Linked DNA regions of Homo sapiens: region 1 is linked to region 2. The links are contacts of gene promoters, found by promoter capture Hi-C in blood cells and fetal thymus (Javierre and others, 2016). All regions are on one chromosome and are shown on one strand. The core of a region is centred on a gene start or on the middle of the fragment in contact, and the rest is flanking DNA. Distances in the headings are between cores, read along the strand shown. Region 1 holds the start of ZNF24 (zinc finger protein 24). Region 2 has its middle 14 kb from the start of MIR3929.

Region 1 (6,114 bases), core at 305-2,804, 600 kb after region 2:
CTTAAAACAAAAATGCCTTCAGCTAGCCTTTACAAATCAGATAAGAGGGAAAGGTTGGGAAGAGCAGCCAAGTTGCTTAGGGGCCGTATCCAAGTAGCAGAGTGAAAAGGCTGTACTTCTGAAGCTTCCTGCAATGGAGAGAAGTGTTAGCAGGGGTTGTGAGAAGAGCTCTGGTCGGAATGAAAAGCAGTGGTATACCATCAGCTGCTCGCTCACTTGCTCTCTCATGCACGAATCCAGCGGAGCCTGACGGCACTTTTCAGAGGGCATTTTCTCCAATGAGGCAAAAAGTCAAAGCCTGAGGATCTTGAAATGCTTATGTTAGGCTGGATCTACACTTTTGACCAGTCCTTAAACAACAGGGCTCCTTTGTGTGGTGTCTGATGCCAATCATGTGACCTAGCTAAAGGCAGCAATGTAACCATCCCACAATTCATTTATTTATTCAACAAATATTTATTGAGTTCTCTATTTACCAGGCAGTCAGCTTCCAGGATCTAGGATGGGATACTGTGGTGAGCAAGACAGACAAGGTCCCTGCCCTTAAGGGACTTAAAGACAAAACAAAACAAAAAATAAAACAAGTAAATAAATGAGATCACTTCCATTAATAACAGTGCCATGAAGGGTCATGCGCCATGAAAGGCAGGTGGTGAGGCTGAGGATCTTGGGCCACAATGAGCCGAGGAGCTGAGGTGACTGGGGGCGCCAGGGTCTGGGGGTGCGGGCAGGCAACAGACCACAGGGGACTTACAGGCCATTATAAGGAGTTTTTATGTCATAAATTATTATGACATAAATTGGAGGGCTTTAAATAGGGGAGTGAAGTGGTCTGATTTGTAATTTTAAATGATCGCGTCAGCAGTTGTTTTATGGTATAAAATGCCCAGCTTTAAGATGACCATGCATTCTACAAATTCACCGTGACATCACTGCCAAAACTCTTAACCTGTCTTATCTAGTTTTCCTGACAGATAAATAGGTCGGAATAAAGCTCCATGACATAACTAGTGGGAGCCAAAGATTTGAATCACGTCTTGGTTTCAAATCTTGCTACCCACAAATGAGTTGTGAGCTCTTGTCAGGTTATTTACTGTATTTGTGCCTCAACTATCTCAGCTGTGAAATGGGGATAATGAAAGTTCCTACATCATTTATTTGTGGAAAAAAAAATGACATGTAAAGCACGACGAGAGCGCCTGGCACAATGTAGTAAGCTTTCACAAACACTCACTTTCATTCCTTCTTGCAGGGGATTACTGAGAGGATCCACAAGATAATGCACGTGAAAGGGCTTGCGAAATTGTAAGGACTATCTTAATGGTAGAGTCCTCTTTATGTTTTCTTTTAAACGGTCCAGAGGACGCTGGGCTGTTCGAGGAGAGGCGCGAGGCCAAGCGCAGCCTCAATGCGGTCATTGTCGTGGGGCCGCCCCTCCCCCGCCCGGGGCGCTTCTCCATGGCAACGTGGGCTTTACCTCTCCCCGCCTCCTCAGGCCCGCAGACCGGAAGCAGCCCGCGCCGGGGGCTTCTGGGAAAAGGCTTGTGAACGGCGTTTCTGCGTCTGCCGTGGACAGCGAAGCTGCTGCGGTTCCTGAGCCGGAGGTTTGCGCCGGTGTGCGGGGAACGTTATGAGAGGGAGGGGGGACACCGGGCTAGGGTCTGCGGACCTCTTAGCAGGAGCCGGCGGGGAAGCCTGTCCGGGACCTTCCTCAGCTTCCCGGGAGGCGCGGGGAACAGGCCGCGGTCTCCGCGCCTAGCAGTTGTGGGGCGGGGAGGGGTAGGCGGCAGGCCTGCTTGGGTCTTCGGCATTTGCAGAGAGCTCTCTAACCCCCTGTGTCCTCCGAGACCCTCACCTTCCCCCTCCCCCACCGGCCGGTTTTGTTCTATTTCGAGGCCCTGGCGTCTCGCGGAGGGTTCTGGGAGTCGTGATGGGAGGGGGTGGTAGTGGGACGAGACTTGCGCGGGGCTTCTGGGATTTGTAGTCTCACCGGCCGCAGGCGGAAGTGCCGTGGTTCCGACGCTGTTGTCACAGGGTGGCCTTTGGTCATCTGAAATCCGCGGTCCTGAGTGCTGGGAAGAGGGGCTAGAGGACGTCGGGCCGGGGCCGGGGCCGGGGCCGGGATACACAGCAGGTCTATGCAGCAGTAAGGTGGGCGATCCACCTGGGACGAGGTACCCTGCCCAAACATTGTCGGGACCGTGGGCCTTCCCTCCATTTCCCACAAGCGGTATGCTCTACAGCATAAAAGGAAGAGAAAATTATGTAGAAATACTTGCACCGTTGATAAGCAGGGTCTTGGAATAGGAACGAATGAATGTTGGCTAGACCTTATGTATAAGGCCACCACACTCCAGGGTATTTAATTAAACCAGTATGTATTACTTGTCTGATAAGGCCTTTTCTGATTCTAGTCTTCATCTTGCTTGGGTTACAATAAGTTTTTTTAAGTTGTTATTGTTCAGATTTTGGGCCCTGAATAAATAAATAGGCTGAATGGCTCATTGCTAGTATGTGTCGTAAACAACAGCACGGGCATGATCGTGCAAATAATAAAGGTCCAGAAGCAGTATACAGTTTCACTGAAGGTAGAAGCTGGGGAAACTGTGAGTCCTCCAGTGTAAGGACAAGACACTGGACCACTGCAGGAAGTCAAGGTGCTTATGCGAGTGCCTTTTCTTAATAGAAGTTTCTGTGATTAATGCCTATCATTATAAATATAAATGTACGTATGGTGTGGTGGAAGACTGAATATTTACGTATTATGTGCAAGATAATTTTTCAAAATTATGTGATGTTTTTCACATATGATCTTTTCAATATTATGTGATCTGCTACTCAGCAAGTGAACATTTTTTCACATATAAGTCCAAGGAGTTCTTAAACACCTTAAAAATATTTTTTAAATGGTAAAGAAAATTTTTTTAAGCACATAATAATAAAGCGAACCTTCCTTTTGAGTTGACTTGTGTGTGTCAGGAAACACCAATCCTGAATTGGAAATAATGCGTTCCAGGGTCAGGCACATTTAGAAAGCACTGAAGTAGTCTGGTTCTTACTTGGATTCTTTTGATTATTGACATAGGGTTTGTCGTCTTAGTAGGTCATGATTGGCAAACTTTTTCTGTAAGCGGCCATATAGTAAATAAGGTCATGCATAACTCAACGATAGTGCTATGGTCTGAGAAATATGTTAGGCTATTTCATCCTTGTGTGAACGTCATAGAATGTACTTGCACAAACCTAAATGGCGTAGCCTACTACACACTTAGGCTATCTGGTATAGCCTATTGCGCCTAGGCTACAAACCGGTACGGCATGTTGCTGTACTGAATACTGTAGAGAATTGTAACACAATGCTAACTATTTGTGTATCAAAACATAGAAAAGATAAGAGTAAAATATGATATAAAATGTTTGAAAAAAAAAAAAGATATGCCTGTACAGGGCACTTACCATGAATGGACCTCGCTGGATTGGAAGTTGCTCTAAGAAGTCAGTGAGTGAGTGGTGAATTTGGAGGCCTGGGACATTATTGTACATTCCTATAGACCATATAAACACTGAACACTTAGGCTACACTAAATTTATTAAGAAAACATTTTTCTTCAATAATTAACCTTAGCTTACTGGAACTTTTTCACTTACAAACTTTTACATTTTTTTTTAACTTTTTTACTCTTTTGTGATAACACTTCACTTAAAATACAAACACATTGTACAGCTGTACAAATATATTTATATCCTTATTCTGTAAGCTTTTTGCTTTTTTTTTTTTATAGACAGAGTCTCGCTCTGTCGCCAGGCTAGAGTGCAGTGGCGCGATCTTGGCTCACTGCAGCCTCCACCTCGCGGGTTCAAGAGATTCTCCTGCCTCAATCTCCCCAGTAGCTGGGACTACAGGCGCAATCCACCACGCCCAGCTAATTTTTGTATTTTTAGTAGAGACAGGGTTTCACCATGTTGGCCAGGATGGTCTTGATCTCTTGACCTCGTGATCTGCCTGCCTCAGCCTCCCAAAGTGCTGGGATTACAGGCCTGAGCCACCGTGCCCGGCACAGCTTTTTGCTATTTTTAAATTCATTTTTTAGAGACAGGGTCATACTCTGTTGCCCAGGCTGGAATGCAGTGGTGTGATCATAGCTCAGTGGAGCCTTGAACTCCTGGTCTTTAGTGATCCTCCTGCCTCAGCCTCCTATAGTGCTGGGATTACAGGTGTGAACCATTGCACCTGGCCAATTTTTTTTTTCTTTTGGAACTGTTTTTGTTAAAAGCTAAGATAAACACATTAGCTTAGGCTTACACAGGGTCTGGATTATCAGTATCATTGCCTTCTACCTCCATATCTTGTCCCACTGGAAGGTTTTCAGGAGCAGTAACATACATGGAGCTGTCATCTCCATAATAACAGTGCCTTCTGTAATACCTCCTGAAGGACCTGCCTGAGGCCATTTTGCAGTTAACTTTTTTATTTAGTAAGTAGAAGGAGCACACTCTAAAATAATATAGTATAAAAAGTATAGTAAATACATAAACCAGTAACATAGTCGTTTATTATTGTTATCAAGTTTTATGTACCATACATAACTGTATGTGTTAAACTGGCAACACAGCAGGTTTGTTTACACCAGCATCACCACAAACATGTGAGTAATGTATTGACCTTACAACAGCTACAGTGTCACTAGGTGAATCTTGAATTTTTCAGCTCCATTATAATCTTATGGGAGCACTGTCATCTAGGTGGTCCTTCATTGACCCAAACATCATTTTGTAGTGCATGACTGTGTTGGGTTTTTTTTAGGCCATCTAGTCTGTTGAAACTACTCAACTCTGCTATTGTAGCGTGAAGTATGAGTAAGTACAATTATTTATGGACACAGTCATGTTAATTTCATATCATTTTCACGTGTCATGAGGTATTCATTTGATTTTGGGGAGCTCCATTCCCTAAATATCATTAGGTATTCATTTGATTTTAGGGATCTCCGCTCCGTAAGGCACTGTGATGAAGACCACAGCCATTTAAAAATGTGAAAATTATTGTTGGTGCAAGTGTTGTACAGAAATGGGTGGCAGGCTAGATTTGGCCGTGAAGCTGTAGTTTGCCAATTCCTGGTGTAGGTTATTGATTGGAATTTTTAACTCAAAGAACAAGTATCTTTTACTTTTACCAGTATAAGTTCAAATTCTTAGGATATTTTTGCTTATTTATATATCTTTTATTTCTTATGCCTCAGGAGTGCCTGTGAAGAAAACGGGGTATTGCCCTGAGGCTTATATTCTGCCTCAGTTGTCTTTTCTTGAAATATTATAAATCAGAATGTCTGCACAGTCAGTGGAAGAAGATTCAATACTTATCATCCCAACTCCAGATGAAGAGGAAAAAATTCTGAGAGTGAAGTTGGAGGAGGATCCTGATGGCGAAGAGGGATCAAGTATCCCCTGGAACCATCTCCCAGACCCAGAGATTTTCCGACAGCGATTCAGGCAGTTTGGATACCAGGATTCACCTGGGCCCCGTGAGGCTGTGAGCCAGCTCCGAGAACTTTGCCGTCTGTGGCTCAGGCCAGAGACGCACACAAAAGAACAAATCTTGGAGCTGGTAGTGCTGGAGCAGTTTGTTGCCATCCTACCCAAAGAGCTACAGACTTGGGTTCGAGATCATCATCCAGAGAATGGAGAGGAGGCAGTGACAGTGCTGGAGGATTTGGAGAGTGAACTTGATGACCCTGGACAACCGGTGAGCCTGCTTGTGTCATTTCCTGTGTCAGAAGCACTGGCATAGGTAGTAGGCAAAGCTGCTGAATTAATTCCACTCAACTAAGTTAGAATTATGTTTATGCCTTTTCCCCCATTCCCCTACCACTCCTTGTTATCTGTGCCGCTTTGCCATCTAGGCTTCTGCAGTATTTGTTTCATGGGGTTTCTCTTACGTGTTTTTAGTTCTGATTCTCATTACAGTTCCTTCTCTGAATCAAATCTTTCTGTTTCCAGGTTTCTCTCCGTCGACGAAAACGGGAAGTACTAGTAGAAGACATGGTATCTCAAGAAGAAGCTCAGGGATTACCAAGTTCTGAGCTTGATGCTGTGGAGAACCAGCTCAAGTGGGCA
Region 2 (6,528 bases), core at 1,005-3,504:
TGTCACCCAGGCTGGAGTGCAGTGGCACTATCTTGGCTCACTGCAGCCTCCACCTCCTGGGTTCCAGCAATTCTCATGCCTCAGCCTCCCGAGTAGCTGGGATTACAGGTATCTGCCACCATGCCCAGCTAATTTTTTGTGTTTTTAGTAGACAGGATTTCGCCATGTTGGCCAGGCTGGTCTCGAACTCCCGGCCTCAGGTGATCTGCCCACCTCGGCCTCCCAAAGTGCTGGGATTACAAGTGTGAGCCACCACTCCTGGCCCCAATTTTCCAATTCTACTAGTCTCAAACTCTGTTTTCTGTCCACTTCAAGTCAATCAAGCGATGGCTCTCTGCAGCTGGAGCTGCTCACTGATTGGGGGTTGCCCTCATGTCAAAAGCCATAAACTCACAAATCCCAACAATTTTCATTCATTTTTCAAGGGTGGTTTTCCTACAGTTTCTGCCTTCTTTTGATCAATCTCTAATACCTTCACACATTATTTTAAAAATGCTTTGCTCAGATTGTATAATTTTTATTTTATTTTATTTATTTTTTTTGAGACAGAGTCTTACTCTGTCGCCCAGGTGGTGCACCACCTCGCCCACCTAATTTTTTTCTCTTGTTTGGTATTTCTAGTAGAGACGGGGTTTCACCATGTTGACCAGACTAGTCTCAAACTCTTGACCTTAAGTGATTCGCCTGCCTTGGCCTTCCTAAGTGCTGGGATTACAGGAGTAAGCCACGGAGCCCAGCCAGATTGTATAACTTTTATCTGCAAGAAGATTAGTCCACCGTTACCAAAAGCTGGAACCTCATTATACTCTTCTGCCTACTTTCACGTTTGCAATTTTCCATAATTTAAAAAGAGAAAAAAAATTTTAAACGCTCTAGTGGGATGTTTTAATTTTACTTATTCTCATTAATCTGAAGCCTAAAAATGAGTTGCTATCTCTTAATGTGACAGTTGAAATAAAAGAAACGGAATAAAAGGGGGAGTTTTCGAAGCCTTTGATGGGGGAGGAAAGACCCCAAGCTTCTCTCCTTAGAGGGAAGGAATCCTTACTTACAGGTTAGTTCCACCACGTGCAGTTCCTCACAGTGACCAGCAGGGGGAAAAAGTAGTTTTGCGTTTCCGATGGATCCCTGCGCCCCGCTGCCAATTCCCCAAGCAAAGGGAAGCGAGGGGAGAGCGCGGAGCCCCCGATTAGCGTTCGGAGGAACTGGCCTAGAGGGGCCACTCGGAGCGCAAAGGCCCCGCGAAATAGAATATCTATACGCCCAGCAACCCTCCCTTTCGAGGCGCACGGAATAAGTTGGCTGGAACTCTCCGCTGACCGCTCCGCCTGGGACTCAGGGTTGCAGCCGCACAGAGCTTCCTCCGGGGCGCCCAGGGCGGCGCGAGCAGGAGGGGGACCCAGTGTGGCCGCGCCCGGGAACTCGGGGGACCAGGTGAGGCTGCGCCCGGGTCCCAGTGGGATCCAGATGAGCGTACGCCCAAGCCCGCGGGGGACCAGGTGAGCCCGCGCCCGGGTCTGAGTGGGATCCAGGTGAGCCAGCGTCCAGCGTCTCCAGGGTCTGGGGCAGGGTCGTCGGGCTTAGGACTCAAGCAGTCAGCGGGCAGAATGGGTTGGCGTGGAGAGCCAGACGCGCTCAGGATCCAGGCGATGGGCCTGGGCATAGCCGTGTCTGCAAGGGCTGTCGTCAGGGGATCGTCGAGAGGACCTGCTTCTACCTAGTGGATTCACAGTACTACCCATAAAAATAAACCCTGCTAATGAGACGGTGTGTGGGAAGGGGGTGGGAGCATGGTCATTTTATTAGAGCTGAGCATTAATAATTTCCTTGAGGACCTTGGGCAAACTCTTTGTTTTGAAGCCAGTGGAGGCCTGGGTCAGTGTCCCTGAGTTCTGAGTTAACTGCGTGGACAAATGATGAGAAACAGCCATCACTTTAGGGATGTTTTAAGAGAAAGTCGGTGTGTGCTGAAACAGTGAGTTAGAGAGACTGGGAACAGAAAGCAAAGACCAGAAAGACAAGAAGCAAACATATGGGAAGTCAAAAAAGGAAATTGCCTGGAAATAAAGCCAGATGGGTCTGGCAGGAGTGCTGTCTTGGTTGACATCTGTGGGACATGACCCTGGACAGATCACTGGAGTCAGAGGAGGTCATTAATTAAGAATCCGCTGGTTATCCTTGGTGTTTTAAGGTTACCACGGTAGAAATAGAAACGTGTGCAGCACATAGTCAACAAGTTTTGGCAAATGACCAAATAAGATACAAACATTTAATTGGATTAGGAGATCAGTTGCAAAGTGTTGTGTTTCTATGCCATGATGAACATTCAGAGTGGAATCTCTAGAAAAATGCTTTGTGTAAATGATTAGACTGTAGGGCTAAGGTGTTGCAAAACAGTACAGTAAGTTATTTACTCTTTTTTTTTTTTGAGACGGAGCCTCACTCTGTTGCCCAGGCTGGAGGGTAGTGGCTTGATCTCGGCTCACTGCAACCTCCGCCTCCCGGGTTCAAGCAGTAAATTATTTACTTTTAGTCTCAATAATACTGTGTGTATCAGTAATAATCTAATTACATTTATTTCAAGAAGGTGTCCATTTGTTTTAGACAGGTAATTACTAGTTTAAAATAGATGGGAATATAAAACATTCCGATAATTTGAAATATAGGCTAAAGTCAAGTAAAACATTTGCAAAACCATACATGAAAATGGTAAAATAAGAGCAGACCAAGTTCAGCTAGTTTTCAAAAAAATATAGAATGCCACTCTTTCCCCTGTTCTTGTACTTGAGGGTTGAGGAGCTGTTTGTTGTTGCAGGCTCACACCTGTGTGTCCGAGTCAGGCCTGCAAAACCTGTGTGTCCCACTTCTCAATTTACCCAGTTCTGGGGTCCTTCTCTGCACACCTGTGAAAAGACATCTTATTCTTGTGGTTTAAAACTTGCCGGCCGGGCGCGGTGGCTTATGCCTGTAATCCCAGCGCTTTGGGAGCCCGAGGCGGGTGGATCACGAGGTCAAGAGATTGAGACCATCCTGGCCAACATGGTGAAACCCCGTCTCTACTAAAAATACAAAAATTAACTGGGCGTGGTGGCACATACCTGTAATCCCATCTACTTGGGAGGCTGAGGTAGGAGAATCACTTGAACCCGGGAGGCAGAGGTTGCAGTGAGTCGAGATCGTGCAGTTGCACTCCAGCCTGGGTGACAAGAGCCAAACTCCGTCTCAAAAAAAACCCAACCAACCAGCCAAACAAACAAAAACTTGCCTATACTGCTTGGTGTTTTAAAAAATTTGGAAGGGGGAGGAAAAGACAGGTTATTCTTCCATGAATCAGACACAGCAACTGAACCTCAATTGTTGGGGAGGGATTGATTGCTGAATGAAAAAACTAGGTGGGAGGCAGGAGGGGGTGGATATGATGACCTCATTTGAACTTTGCATGCTATTTCTTCTTAAACGGTGAGGAGTTTAGAAAAAGTACTCAAGCTTAGTTTTGGCGGAAAGGCATTAATAGTATTTTCTCAAGCAGTGTTTGTACAGAATTATTAAGGAGCCCCCTAACATTTTCTCATAAGCCCCCAGGAACGGATTCCTTGTACCTCAGAGGCAAGGTACTTGCCAATAAGCCTTTAGCTTGAGGCTTGCTGTAATATATTTTATAAGACTGTAATGGAACTTAGCAATTTAATCAGAGTATGTGCTTCTCGTTATATTCTTAAAAAATACAACGCATCAGCAAATGTTGCATTATGGGCTATGAAATTCCTTCTGTTAGTTGTTCACATTTTAGCCTGTGCCCACTGTGTTTTGTATGATGGACAAACCAAATAATCATTATGTAAGTAAGGTAGAGCTTTATATTTTTTCCAATGTGTAAACACTCTGTAAATAGGCAGTCCTTGGTGGGTGTGGCAGCTCCCCTAGCTCATCAGGAACCTGGACTCCTCTCTTTCTTCTCTGCTATCCTCAGTGTGTAGTTCTCATCTTTCAGGCTGCCTGGTGGTTGCAAGATGACTGCTGAAGTTCTAGTCATGACACTCATGTTCTAGGCAGGAAGTAGGAAGAAAGGGAGAAGGTAGCTGAATACAATTTAACAACTTCCATTTAAATTTTGTGGTAGAATGTCTGCAAAGATGGCTGCCAATAATTTTTGTAGGCTTAAGTCATTTTTTCCTGTCAAGAGGTATAGTCTGTTTCTCTTCTCCTTTAGTCAGGGCTGGCCCTATGACTTGCTTTGACCAATAGAATGTATTGGAAGGCCTTGCTAGGCTTTGCTGCTTCTGTTTACCCTCTTGGGATCCAGCTGCCATGTAAAGAAGCTTAGACTAGAATATATATATATATATATCTGGAATACAATGGTGTGAACACAGCTTACTGCAGCCTCAACCTCCCAGGCTCAGGTGATCCTCCCACCTCAGCTTCGATAGTAGCTGGGACTACAGGTGCACTTTACCATACTCAGCTAATTTTTTGTAGAGACAGGGTTTCGCCATTTTGCCCAGGTTGGTCTTGAACTCCTTGGCTCAAGTGATCCACCCACCTCGGCCTCCCAAAGTGCTGGGATTACAGGTGTGAGCCACCACAGCTGGCCCAGAGTAAACTATTGAATAATGAACAACTATGTGAAGAGAGGCCTAGCCAGTCCCCAGCTATTCCAAGTACCCCAGTTGAGGCATAAGTCACGTGTATGAAGCCATCTTGAGTGTACCAGTCCCAGTCAAACTCCACTTGATACCATGTGGGATGCAAGAACCACCCAGTTGAGCCCTGTCAACTTATAGAAATGATCAGAAATAGTAAATCATTGCTGAATTGTGCCGAAACACAATTAATTGGCTCTCCGCCTCCAAATACCAGATGGTCAAGAAGTGAAGTTCATTAATTGGGCTCTTTGCCATACTAGACATGTTATGAGTTTTTTACTACAGAGGAAGGGGATGGCTGTCTGGGATGGGGAGGAGTGATAACAGTTGGCCACAGTCACTAATCACAAGATGGCATCTTGGGACAGAAAAGGCATCTCTGGGACCCCAGAAGCAGGGTCCTGTGGGATTGTTACTCTCATGCTTTGGCATTAATGGGACTGGGCCACCCACAGAGGCTGTGCTTTTGTGTCCTGCCTCTGCCCTTCCTCTGCTCTGAAGCTTGCTGCCTCACAGTTTCTGTGCCTGGGTGACCTCAGGCCCCACTCTGTGCACACTGTGAGCTCCCAGCTCCTGGCTGCTGCCAGGTAGCCTAACTCCTGTTCTCAGAGAGGAAGTCGAATTGTATCGCTCCAATGTCCAGTGAGGTCACGCAAAGGTCATCTCTGGTTTCTGGATTGGCTGCACAGCCCTTATCCAGTCAGTTCTGGTAGGAGAGGGACATGGCTTCATGAGGGTTTTGCCAATAACTAGGGTTGTGGGAAGCACAGGCTCTCTTGGGGACACCATGCGTGTGGCAACTAATGTTCTCTTCCAGTTTTTTGAGCAGGAATGAGGCAGGGGAGGAAGACTGTGTGACATGGTGGATTTGCCTTGAGCTCCAGAAGAACTGGATCAAGTTCTGGCTACCTCACTTACTGGCTGTGTTACTTTGAGCAGGTTTTATAGAACTTTGCCTCAGTTTTCTTGAGGTGATTGGTACTCACTTCAGAAGTTTATTTTGAAGATTAAATAAGAGAATATGTGTAAAATACATAGTGTGTGCTCACCAAATGTAGCCATTATGTTACTATTTTGTTTTAATGTACATAAGCAACTGTGAGTCTCTTTTGTGGAATCAATGTTCCTTTAAAAATTAGCCATCTATCAAGTGATATTTTCCCAGAGATGTCCATTATACTATTGAGAGTTCTTTCTTAGTAGAAAATTTATTTCCAATGATATTACATTATTTAAAAACTTCTTTTAAAATATTGCAAAACTTTTTTCAAAATCATGACTTGAGAGGGAAATTTACTGGTAATATATTAAAGGTAACCAAAAGTCTCTCCATATTGTATATACCTGTTTTTTCTCTGTCTGGAGTGAGCAGTGGCAGTTTGGGAGTCTGGGCTCATGGAATGCCCACATGATCGCATCATGATCGCATCTGGTTCACATGATCGCATCATCGCCCAACATGGGGTGGGACTTAGACTGCCTCCCTGGGGCAAGGGCAGCTCGAGAGAAAAAGCAGCAGGTGCTTTGGAAGATAGGCTTTCAATTCCTTCGAGGCTGCAACTTAACTCAAGGTATGTGTGATCTTCCTGTGGTAAGGCCTTTAAAATTTTTGTAAAGTAGAGTCTCTCAATTGCTTATGTAATAGCAATGGACAGGGATGTTACAAGTTATTGATGCATTTATTTGATATTTTTTCTAGTGTTTATAGTGAGCACAGGTTTGCCATTCTGTTTATGGTGTATCTTTAAAATGACTGTTTGCATAACGTATTACTTCCATAAAGACAAATTCCTTGCAGAGGATTTTTTGCTCTTGTTAGACTATCATACTCTGTAAAAATGTAGGTATCACTATCTTTTCTTTTCTTTTTTTTTTTTTAAGA

What was found. Contacts are between HindIII fragments. The CHiCAGO score rates a contact against its expected background, and 5 or more counts as called.
Region 1: a contact is called between the fragment with the promoter of ZNF24 here and a fragment that was not itself captured in region 2, in 6 of 17 cell types (total B cells, naive CD4 T cells, fetal thymus and 3 more). The highest score is 7.7, in total B cells.

The regions. Positions count from the first base shown.
Region 1 is chr18:35,339,860-35,345,973 of GRCh38, reverse strand. ZNF24 (zinc finger protein 24) reads left to right here and starts at 1,554. Exons shown (of 4, transcript NM_006965.4): 1 at 1,554-1,614; 2 at 5,241-5,743; 3 at 5,998-6,114. The coding sequence starts at 5,324. LOC124904283 (a long non-coding RNA gene) reads right to left here and starts at 1,920. Exons shown (of 2, transcript XR_007066337.1): 1 at 1,235-1,920. RefSeq lists a silencer at 1,327-1,496 and an enhancer at 2,177-2,236. The HindIII fragment of the contact is 2,541 bases long and covers 1,220-3,760 here.
Region 2 is chr18:35,945,138-35,951,665 of GRCh38, reverse strand. No RefSeq gene overlaps it. Among named protein-coding and RNA genes, the nearest start is that of MIR3929, 14 kb to the right of the region's middle. The HindIII fragment of the contact is 2,468 bases long and covers 1,021-3,488 here.